2 separate regions of the Homo sapiens genome follow, and region 2 is linked to region 1. The links are contacts of gene promoters, found by promoter capture Hi-C in blood cells and fetal thymus (Javierre and others, 2016). All regions are on one chromosome and are shown on one strand. Each heading gives the region's core, a stretch centred on a gene start or on the middle of the fragment in contact. The rest is flanking DNA. Distances are from core to core; before and after follow the strand shown. Region 1 overlaps CCDC57 (coiled-coil domain containing 57). Region 2 holds the start of ASPSCR1 (ASPSCR1 tether for SLC2A4, UBX domain containing).

Region 1 (6,831 bases), core at 2,639-5,138:
ACTTTGGGAAGCTGAGGGGGGAAAATCGCTTGAGGTGAGGAGTTGGAAACCAGCCTGGCCAACAAAGTGAGACACCCATCTCTATAAAAAATTACAAAATAAATTAGCCAGCCATGGTGGCGTGTGTCTGAGTCCCAGCTACTCTGGAGGCTGAGGTAGGAGGACCATCTGAGCTCAGGAGTTTGAGGCTGCAGTGAGCTATAATCATGCCACTGCACTGCAGCTCGGGTGACAGAGTGAGATCCCATCTCAACAAACAACAAACACCAAAAAAACCTGTGAGTTTATTACAAGTTACGCACTTGTAATCAAGTTAGGTTCACCTGTTTCTACTTCATTTTGAGTCCTTACTGATTTTAAGTTTTTTTGTTTTTTGTTGTGCTTTGTTTTTGGCACATGAAACATGTATACGTGGTTCTAAAAGTCCGCAAAGTCTAAACTCAACTACAAGACTTCGACTTCAACTTCTATTTCTCACTTACTCACTTTTTTTTGGCAAATGCACGTTCAAAGAAAACAGCCCTTCATGTTCCTTCGTGGTAGTGGTGCCCCTCTTCTCCAGCAAGTGCCACTGACAGAATTCAGACCTACTGCCCATCTCTCTTATTTCAGTTTTAGAAATGGCTGTGGCTACTCTTCGGCAGTCAGTGGAGGAAGTGAAAAAAAACACGGGGTCACAGGTACATAATTTTTGTCCCCTGGACCTATTTAAAGAGTAGATGAGAGGCTGGGTGCAGTGGTTCACACCTATAAGTACGTGGGAAGATCGCTTGAGCTGTAGCTTTTAGATGGGCATTCGAGGCTGCAGTGAGCTGTGATTGTGCCACTGCACTCCATCCTGGGTGACAGACTGAGACTCTGTTTCAAAACAAAAGAGTAGATTACTGAATTTGGCCTCCCAGAGGGCTTAGCAGCACTCTCTGGAATCCAAGAGGGGCCACAAGAGCTAAATTCAGTACATTTAAAGGTGAGAGGATCATTTGAGGCCAGGAGTTCAAGACCAGGCTGGACAATATAGTGGAACCCCATCTCTACAAGAAATTTAAAAAAAAAATTAACTGGGCATGGTGGTGCCTGCCTGTAGTCCCAGCTACTCAGGATGCTGAGATTGAGTCCTCTGTCCTGAGTACAAAGTGAATGAGCCACCCCAGACCTGCCTTCCAGTCCCAGGAAGTGTCTTATAAGTTAAGGGTATTAGGCCAGGCACGGTGGCTCACGCCTGTAATCCCAGCACTTCGGGAGGCCGAGGCGGGTGAATCACGAGGTCAGGAGTTCAAGACCAGCCTGGCCAAGATGGTGAAACCCCATCTCTACTAAAAGTACAAAAATTAGCCGGGCATGGTGGCGGGCGCCTGTAATCCCAGCTACTTGGGAGGCTGAGGCAGGAAAATAGCTTGAACCCAGGAGGTAGAGGTTGCAGTGAGCCAAGATCGCGCCACTGCATTCCAGCCTGGGCAAGAAAACAAGACTGTCTAAAATAATAATAATAAGTTAAGGGTATTAAATATATTTATACATGGAGGTCATAAAAATATATATATTTGGGCTGGGCGCAGTGGCTCACACCTGCGCCCGGCCCTTTGGGAGGCCGAGGCAGGTGGATCACCTGAGTTTGGGAGTTCCAGACCAGCCTGACCAACATGGAGAAACCCCTTCTCTGTGTATTTTTAGTAGATTTTATTTTATGTGTATTTTATTCACAGGTATTTCTGGAAAACTCAAACTGTTTTTCCTCTACTCTGATACCACAAGAATCATCAGCACAGAGGAAGACTTCTGTGATCAAATGTGGTGGGAGAGGGAGGTTTTCACCAGCACATGAGCAGTCAGTTCTGCCGCAGACTCGGCGGGTGTCCTTCGGTTCAGTTCCAACACCGCCTGCCTGGAGAGAGGTCAGACCACAGGGTGAGGGCTCAGTCCCCAAGACATAAACACCCAAGACATAAACACCCAACAGGTCCACCCCGCCTGCTGCCCAGGCAGAGCCGATTCACCAAGACGGGAATTAGGATAGAGAAAGAGTAAGTCACACAGAGCCGGCTGTGCGGGAGAACGGAGTTCTATTATGACTCAAATCAGTCTCCCCAAGCATTCGGGGATCAGAGTTTTTAAGGATAACTTAGTGTGTAGGGGGCCAGTGAGTTGGAGATGAAAGCGTAGGGAGTCGAAGGTGTCCTTTTGCGCCGAGTCAGTTCCTGGGTGGGGGCCACAAGATCGGATGAGCCAGTTTATCAATCCGGGGGTGCCAGCTGATCCATGGAGTGCAGGGTCTGCAAAATATCTCAAGCACTGATTGATCTTAGGTTTTACAATAGTGATGTTACCCCAGGAACAATTTGGGGAAGGTCAGAATCTTGTAGCCTGTAGCTGCATGACTCCTAAACCATAATTTCTTTTTTGTTTTTTTTTTTTTATTTTTGAGACAGGGTCTCACTCTGTCACCTAGGCTGGAGTGCAGTGGTGCAATCACAGCTCACTGCAGCCTCAACGTCGTAAGCTCAAGCGATCCTCCCACCTCAGCCTGCCTGGTAGCTGAGACTACAAGCGACGCCCCAGTTAATTTTTGTATTTTTGGTAGAGGCAGCGTTTTGCCGTGTGGCCCTGGCTGGTCTCGAACTCCTGGGCTCAAGTGATCCAGCCTCAGCCTCCCAAAGTGCTGGGACAACCGGGGCCAGTCACTGCACCTGGCCCTAAACCATAATTTCTAATCTTTTGGCTAATTTGTTAGTCCTACAAAGGCAGTCTAGTCCCCAGGCAAAAAGGGGGTTTGTTTCGGGAAAGGGCTGTTACTGTCTTTGTTTCAAACTATAAACTAAGTTCCTCCTAAACTTAGTTCGGCCTACACCCAGGAATGAACAAGGAGAGCTTGGAGGTTAGAAGCACGATGGAATTGGTTAGGTCAGATCTCTTTCACTGTCTGAGTTATAATTTTGCAATGGTGGTTCAAAGACTGCCCGCTTCTGACACCAGTCGCGAGTCCTGGCCTCCGGAACTTCTGACTGACCACTGGCTTCAAGTTGGGGTTCCCACAGCCCCCTCTTTGGGTTCGATTGATTTGCTGGGGTGACTCACAGAACCCAGGGAAACACATACGTGTAACAGTTTATTATAAAGGGTATTACAGAGGATACAGATGAGGAGATGCGTAAGGGGAGATATGGGGGAAGAGGCTTCCTGGAGGACCCCCCCACACCCCACCCACCACTCCCCAGGAACCTCTCCACACCCTGTCCTCTTGGGTGTTTAGGGAGGCTTCCTGAAGTCAGCATTCCTTCCCCCAGGGTAGAGGGTGGGAGCTCTGGGGAGGATCTTATGACCTACAATGGAAAGTCAGGTGAGAGTGGAGACCTGGAAGGATTCTGTTTCCTGAGGCCTGACACGCCCAACATTGCAACAAAAGACTGTGACGTGTGAGAGTTATGAGCCAGGAACTGTGCAAGAAAACCATGATGTGTCATTGTACCACAACAGGTAAACCTACAACATCACCGTTAGCTCAGCTCAGTATTTTTAAAATGAGAAAATCAAAGTGATGGGATGCCCACCCATGCTGTTCCAGCCCCTGCTGGGAGCTGGCTGGTTCAGGGAGCCCCACTGGTTCTCCTGAAAGAGGGTGAACGCACAGCGAGGCCTTCCCTCCCCGGCGGCTTCTCCTGCCGCTCCCCAACCCGGAAGCTTCATGGTCCTTCTTGAAACCAGGTGCTTGCTGGGGACGCCTGCTGGCCGACAGGCAGATTGCGTCCAGATGCTGAGTCCGTGCTTTTGAAAGCCAATTAATCTCAGCCTTGGGGCTTTGGGGATCATCCCGAGATGGGATTTGTACAGAAACAGAGCAGGCCGTTCTATGATGAGGTCAGAAGGAAAGGCGAGCCGAGCCCGGCTGACTTACAGGCCCTTGGTGTGTGGGGCTTCTTATGGGTCCTGAGTGTGATGGATAAAGCGCTGGAGATGCTGGGCTCTCACCGGGTGCTGCACCGAGTCACTTGCTGTATGGATTTTTCAGGCTGCTCTTCTGTGCAGAGCACAGAGGCCTGGGAGCACCCATCTCACATAGAGGGGGTGGTACGTGCCATCTGCCTGTCCTGGCTGCCTGAAGCTTTTGAAAACAGGGTGACCCGCTGAGTCCTGAGACCTGGTGGGAAGGAACCTCACCCAGTGGGGAGATGGGGGCATGGGGACCTGGAGTAGCACGTGCACAGGAACTGGCAGATAAAGGCTGCTCTGGGCCTGCAGGGAGCAGCTGGAGCCACGCAGGCTGGGCCGTGTCCTCGGTCTGTCTTCATACGCTGTGCCAAGGAGATCGGACTTTATTTTGAAAATGGTCAGGAGTCGCGGGCACATTTGAGGCCAGATAAGATTGCATGATCAGATTCTCAGAACGGCAACCCCCATGGGTGGCTGCGACCAATGAGTTAAGGAGGCAAGCCCAGTGGCAGGGCAGCTGGTACAGGACGGGGGCCACAGCAGTCCCTCAGAGAAGAGGCCCGTAGACCTCGCAGACCTCAGGCTCTGCAGAGAACCGTTGTCATGACTCACGGGCACTGTGTGAAGGGTTCTGAGTCATCAGAGATCACAGTGGTGTTCCATCATTTAATGTGTATTTGCTGATAGTCCAATTCTTTCCCTGTGTGTGCACAGGTGTGTGCACAGGTGTGTGCATGTCCTCTGTGTACAAAATGTTTCAGTCGCCAAGACTGTGCCAGACAGTGGGACTCACTACACCCGACACTGGGGTGATGGCGTTGTGCCAACGTGAGATGGAAGTTAGGAAAGCTTCCCTGCAGTGATGTTCAGGTTGAGGTCCCACTGGCAGGAGGAGCCTGCCCTGCGGTTAGGAGGAACCTTGCAGACAGAGCGGCACCTGCCACACATCCCAGGCTCTGAGGGCACGTGGCAGCGACAGGCAGGAGCCTGGGGTCCAGATGTCCTCAGTGGAATGGGAAGCCTGGTTAAGCCTTTTTTTTTTCTTGAGATGGAGTCTCTCTTTGTTGCCCAGGCCGGACTGCAGTGGTGCGATCTCAGCTCACTGCAAGCTTCGCCTCCGGGGTTCACGCCATTCTCCTGCCTCAGCCTCCCAAGTAGCTGGGACTACAGGCGCCCACCACCACGCCCAGCTAATTTTTTGTATTTTTAGTAGAGACGGGGTTTCACCGTGTTAGCCAGGATGGTCTCAATCTCCTGACCTTATGATCCGCCCGCCTCGGCCTCCCAAAGTCCTGGGATTACAGGCATGAGCCACTGCGCCCGGCCCTGGTAAAGCATTTTTGAAAAGATTCCTTTGGCAGCCAAAAAAGTGGGAGTGCACAGCAGAGGCCAGTTGAGGTCTCTTGTGGTAAGACACTGTGGTGGCCGAGGTGTGGGCACAAGGTGGGAGACAGCAAGAGGTCAAGGATCATTACACGGGGTGGACGGTGGGGCCGTTGTAGGAGCTGAGGGAGACGAGGAACAGGAGCGTGGGAGAGTGCTGAGATGGTCGGTAGGGACCCTGTTAGCTCCGGCAATGGGTGGGCACGCAGCAGCTTGGAGGAGCCAGGCTGAGGTGGTCCAGGTGGCGTGATGGTCCTAGGGTGCTGGGCGCGGGGGTTGCATCGCAGGAAGCATGTGGGATGGAGGAGACCGTCTTTGCTCCAGAGCCTCGTCAGAGAAGCGCCGTCTCAGGACCCCCAGGGAGCCCTCGTGCCCCCAGCGGGTGTGCCCTGCTGACCAGCCCTTTCTGGAGGGGCCCACGGGTCTTGCAGCCCCTTACCCACCTCCTCCTTGTGCTTCGTCACAGCCGGTGCTCAGCCTGGCTGTGCCCTTGTACCCGCTCCCTCTGGGAGTTGGGACTTTGTACAACCATTGCTGTGCCCCGAGATGCAGAGGTGCCCGGAGATACAGAGGTACCCTAAGACAGGCTGGGGCTTTTTCCTGCTCTGGCAGCAGCACCCCGGCCATGTCCCACCAGGCCGGAAGTTTGTGCTTGTCCCCCAACTGGGTGTGGCCCTTTTAGGCCATGCAGTTCCCCTGTGTGGACACCAGAGAAGAGTTGTGGGGGATTTCTGTGTCCAAATCGAGCTCATACTTGGACCTCTAAAGGGTTGGGGGCAGCTAGGACCAGCCAGAAGAAACTTTATCTTTTAATAGACCACTCACTGCAGCGTGGAACTCCTGAGTTTGAATGACCCACCCACCTCAGCCTCAGAAAATGTTGGGATTGCAGGCGAGAGCTACTGTGCCCAGCTTATTGGTTTTTGTGATTTTTGTTTTTAAATTTTATTTTTTGTAGCACTTTATTTTTATGGTTTTACCAAAATATCAGTCCATGATGAACAAATAAAAGAACAAAAGAATGTACTCTCGGATGGTATATTAGACCATTCTCACATTGCTGGAAAGAAATACCTGACGCTGGGTAATTTATAAAGAAAGATTAATTGGCTCACGGTTCTCCTGGCTGTACAGGAAGCACAGTGTTGGCACCCGCTTCTGGGGAGGCCTCAGGAAACTTTTACTCATGGCGGAAGGTGAAAGAGGAGCAGGCACGAAGCAAGAGGGGAGTGTGAGTGGTGGAGAGATGCCACATCTCACTAGAACTCATTGTCACCACACACTTTGAAATGACCAAATCTCCCCAGAACTCACTGTCACAAAGACGGCACCAAGCCACGAGGGGTCCGCCCACATGATCCAAACACCTCCCACCAGGCCCCAGCTCCCCCGTTGGGGATTACAATTCCACAAAGGTTTGGGCAGGGATAAATATCGAAACCATATCAGGTGGTGAATCTTCCAGGAGCAGGGTGTTGGGTGGGAAGGGGCATTGGTTCTGAGGGACTGACCTGCTGTCAGTCC
Region 2 (6,831 bases), core at 1-2,500, 230 kb after region 1:
CCCTGTAGTTCTGCAACCTGCCTTAAACTTGCCTAGCACAAGCTACCCCCTGGCTCTGGCACGGTTCTGTGCACCTGCTGCCACTGCCTGCACCGCCTCCGCCCCTCTTCTCCATAAAAAGCCAAAGCCGTGGCCTTGCACCAAGGGGTCCCGCGCAGCCTCTGCGGGAGCGCCCCACTTCCGCACTCTGCACGCCTGGCACCAACAGCCTCCTGGCTGCGCCCTCCACCTGCCCAGGCCTGGGGACCCCACGCCGTGGGCTGCTCCCGCAAACTCCGAGTCGTGTGCACCTTCGGATCCTCACGGTCCCCCACGCAGCAGAGGCTCAATAAATACTTTTTTTTTTTTTTTTTGATATGGAGTCTCGCTCTGTCTCCCAGGCTGGAGTGCAGTAGCGCGATCTCGGCTCACTGCAAGCTCTGCCTCCCAGGTTCACGCCATTCTCCTGCCTCAGCCTCCCGAGTAGCTGGGACTACAGGCGCCCGCCACCACGCCCGGCTAAATTTTTTTGTATTTTTTTAGTACAGACGGGGTTTCACCGTTTTAGCCAGGATGGTCTTGATCTCTTGACCTCGTGATCCACCCGCCTCGGCATCCCACAGTGCTGGGATTTACAGGCGTGAGCCACCGCGCCCAGCCAATACTTTTACATTTAATTGATTCGCGGTCACAAGGTGCCCAAGTAAAAGTGCAGTGAGTGACTCGGCAAAAATCGCTTCCAGGCCCCACGGCCGGGACATCTGCCACCGCGCAACCCGGGCTCCCGCTCCGGGGGACGCCCCGGAATGGGAACGCGGGTCTAGGGCTCCACTCCTCCCTCTTCCCGGCGCCCTCGCGAGCTGGGCTCGGCCGGGCGCCGAGTACTCGATGCGGGTGACACGCGGCGCCGTTCTACCTCACCCCTGGGAAGGCTCGCCACCGCCCCGCCCCCACTCGGGACCCCCGGGACCCCCGGGACCCCAGCGGAAGCGCAGGTGACGGCGAGCAGGGGGCGGGGCCGCCGCTCAGGAGGCCGCTCATTGGCCGCCGAGGCCCCGCCCCCGAACACCGGGACGCCGACCGCAATGGGCGGGGCCTCGGCGCAGCGCCCCCCGCCCGCCTACCCGTCCGCCCCGGGCGGGCGGCCGCACCTGAAGCAGCACGGTGCTCGGCGTCACCTTCACCGTGTGGCGCCGGCCGTTCGGGGCCAGCACCGACACCGCGGAGCCTCCGCCGCCTGCCGGGGCCGCCATTTTCCGCTCACGTGACCCGCCGCCGGGCCGGCGTCAAACAACTTTATCGGCAACAGCCAGGACGCGCAGCCACGCGGCCAGGGGGCGGGGCCGCAGCGCACTTCCGGGTCCTGCCAGGCCCCGCCCTTTCCCCACCCACGGCGCCCCGGCCCCGCCCTTGGGCCGCCAAAGCCCGCGCCAGACCCGGAAAGCGCGGTCGTCCTCTGCCTCCGGGAAGCGCGGCTTGGATGGGCTCGCCGGGGCCAGGCTGGGCCGGGGCTGGGCGCGCGGTCACCCCCGGTGAGCGGCACTGAGCCCCGGGGTCCCAGCGGTCCGCGCTCGCCCACCCTCGCTTCGTCCCTGACACGTCCCCAGCTCGGTGCCCTGCTCTCCCCCGACCCTCCCGGCTTCCTCCACTCCAGCAGCTGAGCCTCTTCCCTGCCCACCTGTCCCTGTGGTCAGCGTCCACCTCCTGACCTTATGGTTTGGGGCAGTCCCCCCGCCCCTGTACGGATCCTCCCTGGGTGTTGGGACTCGTGGCCCTCAGTCTAGACCTGATTTCTTTCATCCTAAAATGGGAGTGCAGAATCTGGCAGCCCTAGGGCTGCCGCGACGGTCCCTAAACCTGAGGGTAGGAAAGGCGGGAGACCGGTTTCAGAACCGTGGGGTGAGCGAACTTGAGTCTCACCGGAGCTCCTGCCGACCCACAGGCACTCAAGGACTTCCCGCACCAACCCATGCTGAGGAGGGGCTTGGTGGCAGCCTCAGGAAACACTCCCATCGCCAGCCACCGCAGCAGGGAAAGCACCTGGCCTCACCAGCTCCAGGCTTCCAGAAGGAGCTGCCCTCCTGACTCGCAGCCGTCGAATGTGCTTAGCTCCCAGCACCTGGGCCACTCATGGACAGCACTCGCACGTGTTCCGCCCCGCCCCCCACCTCCATGGCTCAGCCGGGCCTTGGCACTCCTCTCTCCATGTGCCTGCCTGTCTCTGCGGACTCCTGGCTAGGGCTCAGCTGCCCAGTAGCCTGTGGAAGGGGGAACTGGTGCAGTTATCAGTCAATCCTCCCACAGGGCTGGGATTACACACGTGAGCCACCGCACCCGGCAGTCATTGCTGAGTCTAAGGACATCTCTGCATGGGTGCTGTTGTGCCTTCCTGTCGATGACATATCCATGTCACCCACACACACCTGTATGCTGACAAACACGGACATCTATGTACATTGGAGAAACCTGGGGAAAGCCCCAGGCTAGCCATAGCCCTCCCATCCAGCCAGCCAGTCCCATGCTCTGTGCAACCTCAGAACCTTACTGAGCCACACATCACCTGGTGGGTTTTAATTCTTTAGTGGCGTTTTTGAAGAGTCTGTTCCTATTTTCCTTAGACTGTCCCACAGTCTGGATCCTTGGTTAAACGTTTGGGGCAATGATGAAGGGAGGTGACAAGTCAGCAGGAGGTGCAGGACATCAGCGTGGCCATGAGTGAGGACGTGAAGTTGAACCACTTGGTCAGCTTTGGGTCTGCTGAATTCCTCCATGGTCAAGGTCCGTGGCTCCTTGTGGAGTAATTAAGGCATGCGTGAGGTCATTCTCTGAGACCACAAGCATCAAGTTTTCCCAATAACCATTTGCCCAACAGTTTTAGCATCAGTTAATGAGTAGATTCAGTGTTAAACCGTAAAGCTGCAAAATCATGGCTTCCCAAGTTTATTGTTTCTTCTACATTTATAGTCACTTTCGGTCAAGCTTCCCCTTCTTTAAAAAGTTATTAAATATTTGGGAGGCTGAGGCAGGAGAATGGCGTGAATCCGGGAGGCAGAGCTCGCAGTGAGCTGAGATCACGCCACTGTACTCCAGCCTGGGAGACGGAGCAAGACTCTGTCTCAAAAAAAAAAAAAAAAAAAAAATTAAATATGGCCAGGCGCGGTGGCTCACGCCTGTAATCCCAGCACTTTGGGAGGCTGAGTTGGGCAGATCACAAGGTCAAGAGATTGAGACCATCTTGGCCAACATGGTGAAATCCTGTCTCTACTTAAAAAAAAAGTACAAAAATTAGCCGGGCATGGCGGTGCGTGCCTGTAATCCCAGCTATTCGGGACACTGAGGTAGGAGAATCACTTGAACCTGGGAGATGGAGGTTGCAACGAGCCAAGATCGCACCATTGCACTCCAGCCTGGGCGACAAGAGTGAAACCCCATCTTGAAATATATATATTTATTAATATGAATTCATGTATTTTTTTCATTCAGTCAGCATTCTTTTTGATGCTCAAATTGGTCCGAATTTGGCCAGTGAGACCTCCTTTAAGCTGGCTCCTATGCTTTTTTTGATAGGAGGGATGATCTTTTATCCTGATATTATTTCAAACTTAGCCGAGCAAGGTGGCTCACACCTGTAGTCTTAGCTACTCCGGTGGCCGAGGCAGGAGAATTACTTAAGTTCCAGCCTTAGTGAACCACTATTCATGCCTATGAATAACTACTGCACCCCAGCCCGAGCAACGTAGTACGATACCGTCTCAAAAAAGGAGAAGGAGAAGAAAGAAGAAGAGGGAGGAGGAAGGAAGAAAGAGAAGAAAAGTTTGCAAAAGCAAGAATTCCTGCTGTATATCTTTTTTTTTTTTTTTTTTTTTTGGAGATGGAGTCTCCCTCTGTCGCCAGGCTGGAGTGCAGTGGCGAAATCTCAGCTCACTGCAACCTCTGCCTCCCGGGTTCAAGCGATTCTTCTGCCTCAGCCTCCCGAGTAGCTGGGACTACAGGTGTGCAGCACCACACCCAGCTAGTTGTTGTTTTGTTTTGTTTTGTTTTTTGAGACGGAGTCTCGCTCTGTTGCCCAGGCTGGAGTGCAGTGGTGCAATCTCGGCTCACTGCAAGCTCCGCCTCCCGGGTTCACATCATTCTCCTGCCTCAGCCTCCCGAGTAGCTGGGACTACAGGCACCTGCCACCATGCCCGGCTAATTTTTTGTATTTTTAGTAGACATGGGGTTTCACCATGTTAGCCAGGATGGTCTCAATCTCCTGACCTCGTGATCCACCCGCCTCAGCCTCCCAAAGTGCTGGGATTACAGGTGTGAGCCACCACGCCCAGCCTCCTGTATATCTTTTAGCCAGATAAATCAGTGTTTACATGTCACCCCATTTGTTTTATCATATTCTCTTTCTCTCTCTCCATATACATGTAAAAACTTTTTCTGGCCAGGCACAGTGGCTTACACCTATAATCCCAGCACTTTGGGAGGCCAAAGTAGGAGGATCATTTGAGCCTAGGAGTTTGAGACCACCCTAGGCAACATAGTGAGACCCCAGCTCTACAAAAAATACAAAGGTTAGCTAGGCATGGTGGCATGTCCCTGTAGTCCCAGCGATTTGAGAGATTGAGGCAGGAGGATCACTTGAGCCCAGGAGGTCGAGGCTGCAGTAAAGACATTGAGCACCTTCGCCACTAAATACTTCAGTTTTTCTCTTTCCTAAGAATAAGGCCAGTCTCAACCAGGTGCAGTGGCTCACGCCTGTAATCCCAGCATTTTGGGAGACCAAGGCGGGTGGATCACCTGAGGTCAGGAGTTCAAAACCAGCCTGGCCAACATGGTGAAACCCTATCTCTACAAAAAATACAAAAAGTAGCTGGGCGTGATGGCAGGTGCCTGTAATTCCAGCTACTTGGGAGGCTGAGGTGGGAGAATTGCTTGATTGTGGGAGGTGGAGGTTACAGTGAGCCAAGATCACGCCATTGCACTCCAGCCTTGGCGACAGAGTGAGACTCAGTCTCAAAAAAATAAATAAATAAAATAAGGCCAGTCTCTTATATAGCCACCATAATTTCATACAAAATTGGGAAATCTAATGTTGGTATCATACTCTGAGTTAATCCACAGTTAATTGTCCAAGTGTGGACATCTTTCCTGCATCCTTTTGGCATTTCCATTATTCTTTGGGCATCTCCTCTCTGCCCAAGCCCTGAAGTCAGCCATTTTTCAGAGAAACCCCAATCCCTTTTACAAGGAAATGGGATTTAGAGACCAAGTTCTGGGTGCTGAGTGTGCTCATGGCTACTGGGATGTCACTGCTTTCTGGGCCCTCTCAGGGGACACAATTAGTGTGATGAATTCATCTGAATATTTCTAAGCCACACCTCAGCCTTCTCCCCCTTCTTCCCTCATTCCATATTTGTATTTGGTTGAATTCTATTAAATTGCCCTAGTTAACCTTTTTTTATCTTCTTTTTTTTTTTTTTTGAGACGGAGTCTCACTCTGTCACCCAGGCTGGAGTGCAGTGGCGCAATCTTGGCTCACTGCAAGCTCCACCTCCCAGGTTCACGCCATTCTCCTGCCTCGGCCTCCCGAGTAGCTGGGACTACAGGCACCGGCCACCACACCCGGCTAATTTTTTGTATTTTTAGTAGAGACAGGGTTTCACCATGTTAGCCAGAATGGTCTCAATCTCCTGACCTTGTGATCCGCCTGCCTCGGCCTCCCAAAGTGCTGGGATTACAGGTGTGAGCCACCGCACCCAGGCTTTTTTTTTTTTTTTTTTTTTTTTTTTTGAGACAGAGTCTCGCTCTATTGCCCAGGCTGGAATACAGTGGCACGATCTCGGCTCAGTGCAACCCCCATCTCCCGGGTTCAAGCGATTCTCCTTCCTCAGCCTCCTGAATAGCTTGGATTACAGGCGCTTGCCACCATGAGCAGCTAATCTTTGTATTTCTAGTAGCGATGGGGTTTCACTGTGGTGGCCAGGCTGGTCTTGAACTCCAGACCTCAGGTGATCCTCCCACCTCGGCCTCTCAAAGTACTGGGATTATAGATAGGCATGAGCCACTGCGCCCAGCCGATCATTTTTGATCTACAAAAAAATGACAAAACCTACATGGTTCAACCTAATACCTCCTTTGTCCGCAGTGAGAACCCTAATTGTCAGTAAATCAGTATATTTATTCATTTGCTTTGTTCTAAAATGCCCTCCAAATAGTTTCAGAGGTACTGCGGCAATCTTGCTATTAACAACAGATCTACTGTGGAAATTTCAAGATGTCTTTGTAGCTATTTTTGTCCTTTAGAGTATGTCCCATTAAAGAAACATAGAGTATTGTGTTCAAAAGTTATTTGAATTAATTTGCTTTTCTGTGTTAGGTTAGGTTAGTGTATTATAGGGTCCTCCAGAGAAACAGAACCAATAGGATATGCACAGATATATACAAGAGACCAGCCTGGCCAACATGGGGAAACCTCATCTCTACTGAAAACACAAAAAATAGCCGGGTGTGGTGCTGCACACCTATAGTCGCAGCTACTCGGGAGGCTGAGGCAGGAGAATCACTTGAACCCGGGAGGTGGAGGTTGCAGTGAGCCGAGATCACACCACTGTACTCCAGCCTGAGTGACAGAGTGAGACTCCATCTCAAAAAAAAAAGAGGAAATGTATTATGGGAATTGGCTCAAATGATTATAGAGGCTGAGAAAGAAGTCCCATGGTCGGTTGTCTGCAAGCTTGAGACAGGAAAACCAGTGTATTATAAACCAGTGTATAACTGAATACTCAAACCAGTGTATAACTCAATACCCAAAACCAGTGTATAACTCAATACATTGGTTTATAATATAATTACAATATAATTTAA

What was found. The method cuts DNA at HindIII sites, captures the fragments that hold promoters and counts their contacts. A CHiCAGO score of 5 or more calls a contact.
Region 2: the fragment with the promoter of ASPSCR1 here is called in contact with a fragment that was not itself captured in region 1 in 1 of 17 cell types (total CD8 T cells); the score reaches 5.0 in total CD8 T cells.

The regions. Positions count from the first base shown.
Region 1 is chr17:82,202,921-82,209,751 of GRCh38, reverse strand. The region is part of intron 1 of CCDC57 (coiled-coil domain containing 57); the gene reads left to right. Among named protein-coding and RNA genes, the nearest start is that of CCDC57, 6.5 kb to the left of the region's middle. RefSeq lists enhancers at 3,236-3,345, 3,416-3,475, 2,960-3,761, 3,585-3,879, 3,806-3,985 and 1 more. The HindIII fragment of the contact is 421 bases long and covers 3,678-4,098 here.
Region 2 is chr17:81,972,048-81,978,878 of GRCh38, reverse strand. It overlaps ASPSCR1 (ASPSCR1 tether for SLC2A4, UBX domain containing), which reads right to left and starts at 1,250. Exons shown (of 16, transcript NM_024083.4): 1 at 1,131-1,250. The coding sequence starts at 1,232. It overlaps LOC105371939 (a long non-coding RNA gene), which reads left to right and starts at 1,394. Exons shown (of 2, transcript XR_933953.4): 1 at 1,394-1,511; 2 at 1,922-2,911. It overlaps LOC124904087 (a long non-coding RNA gene), which reads right to left. Exons shown (of 2, transcript XR_007065951.1): 2 at 2,544-2,768. RefSeq lists a silencer at 755-1,614 and enhancers at 1,093-1,864, 1,865-2,638. The HindIII fragment of the contact is 4,025 bases long and covers 1-2,960 here.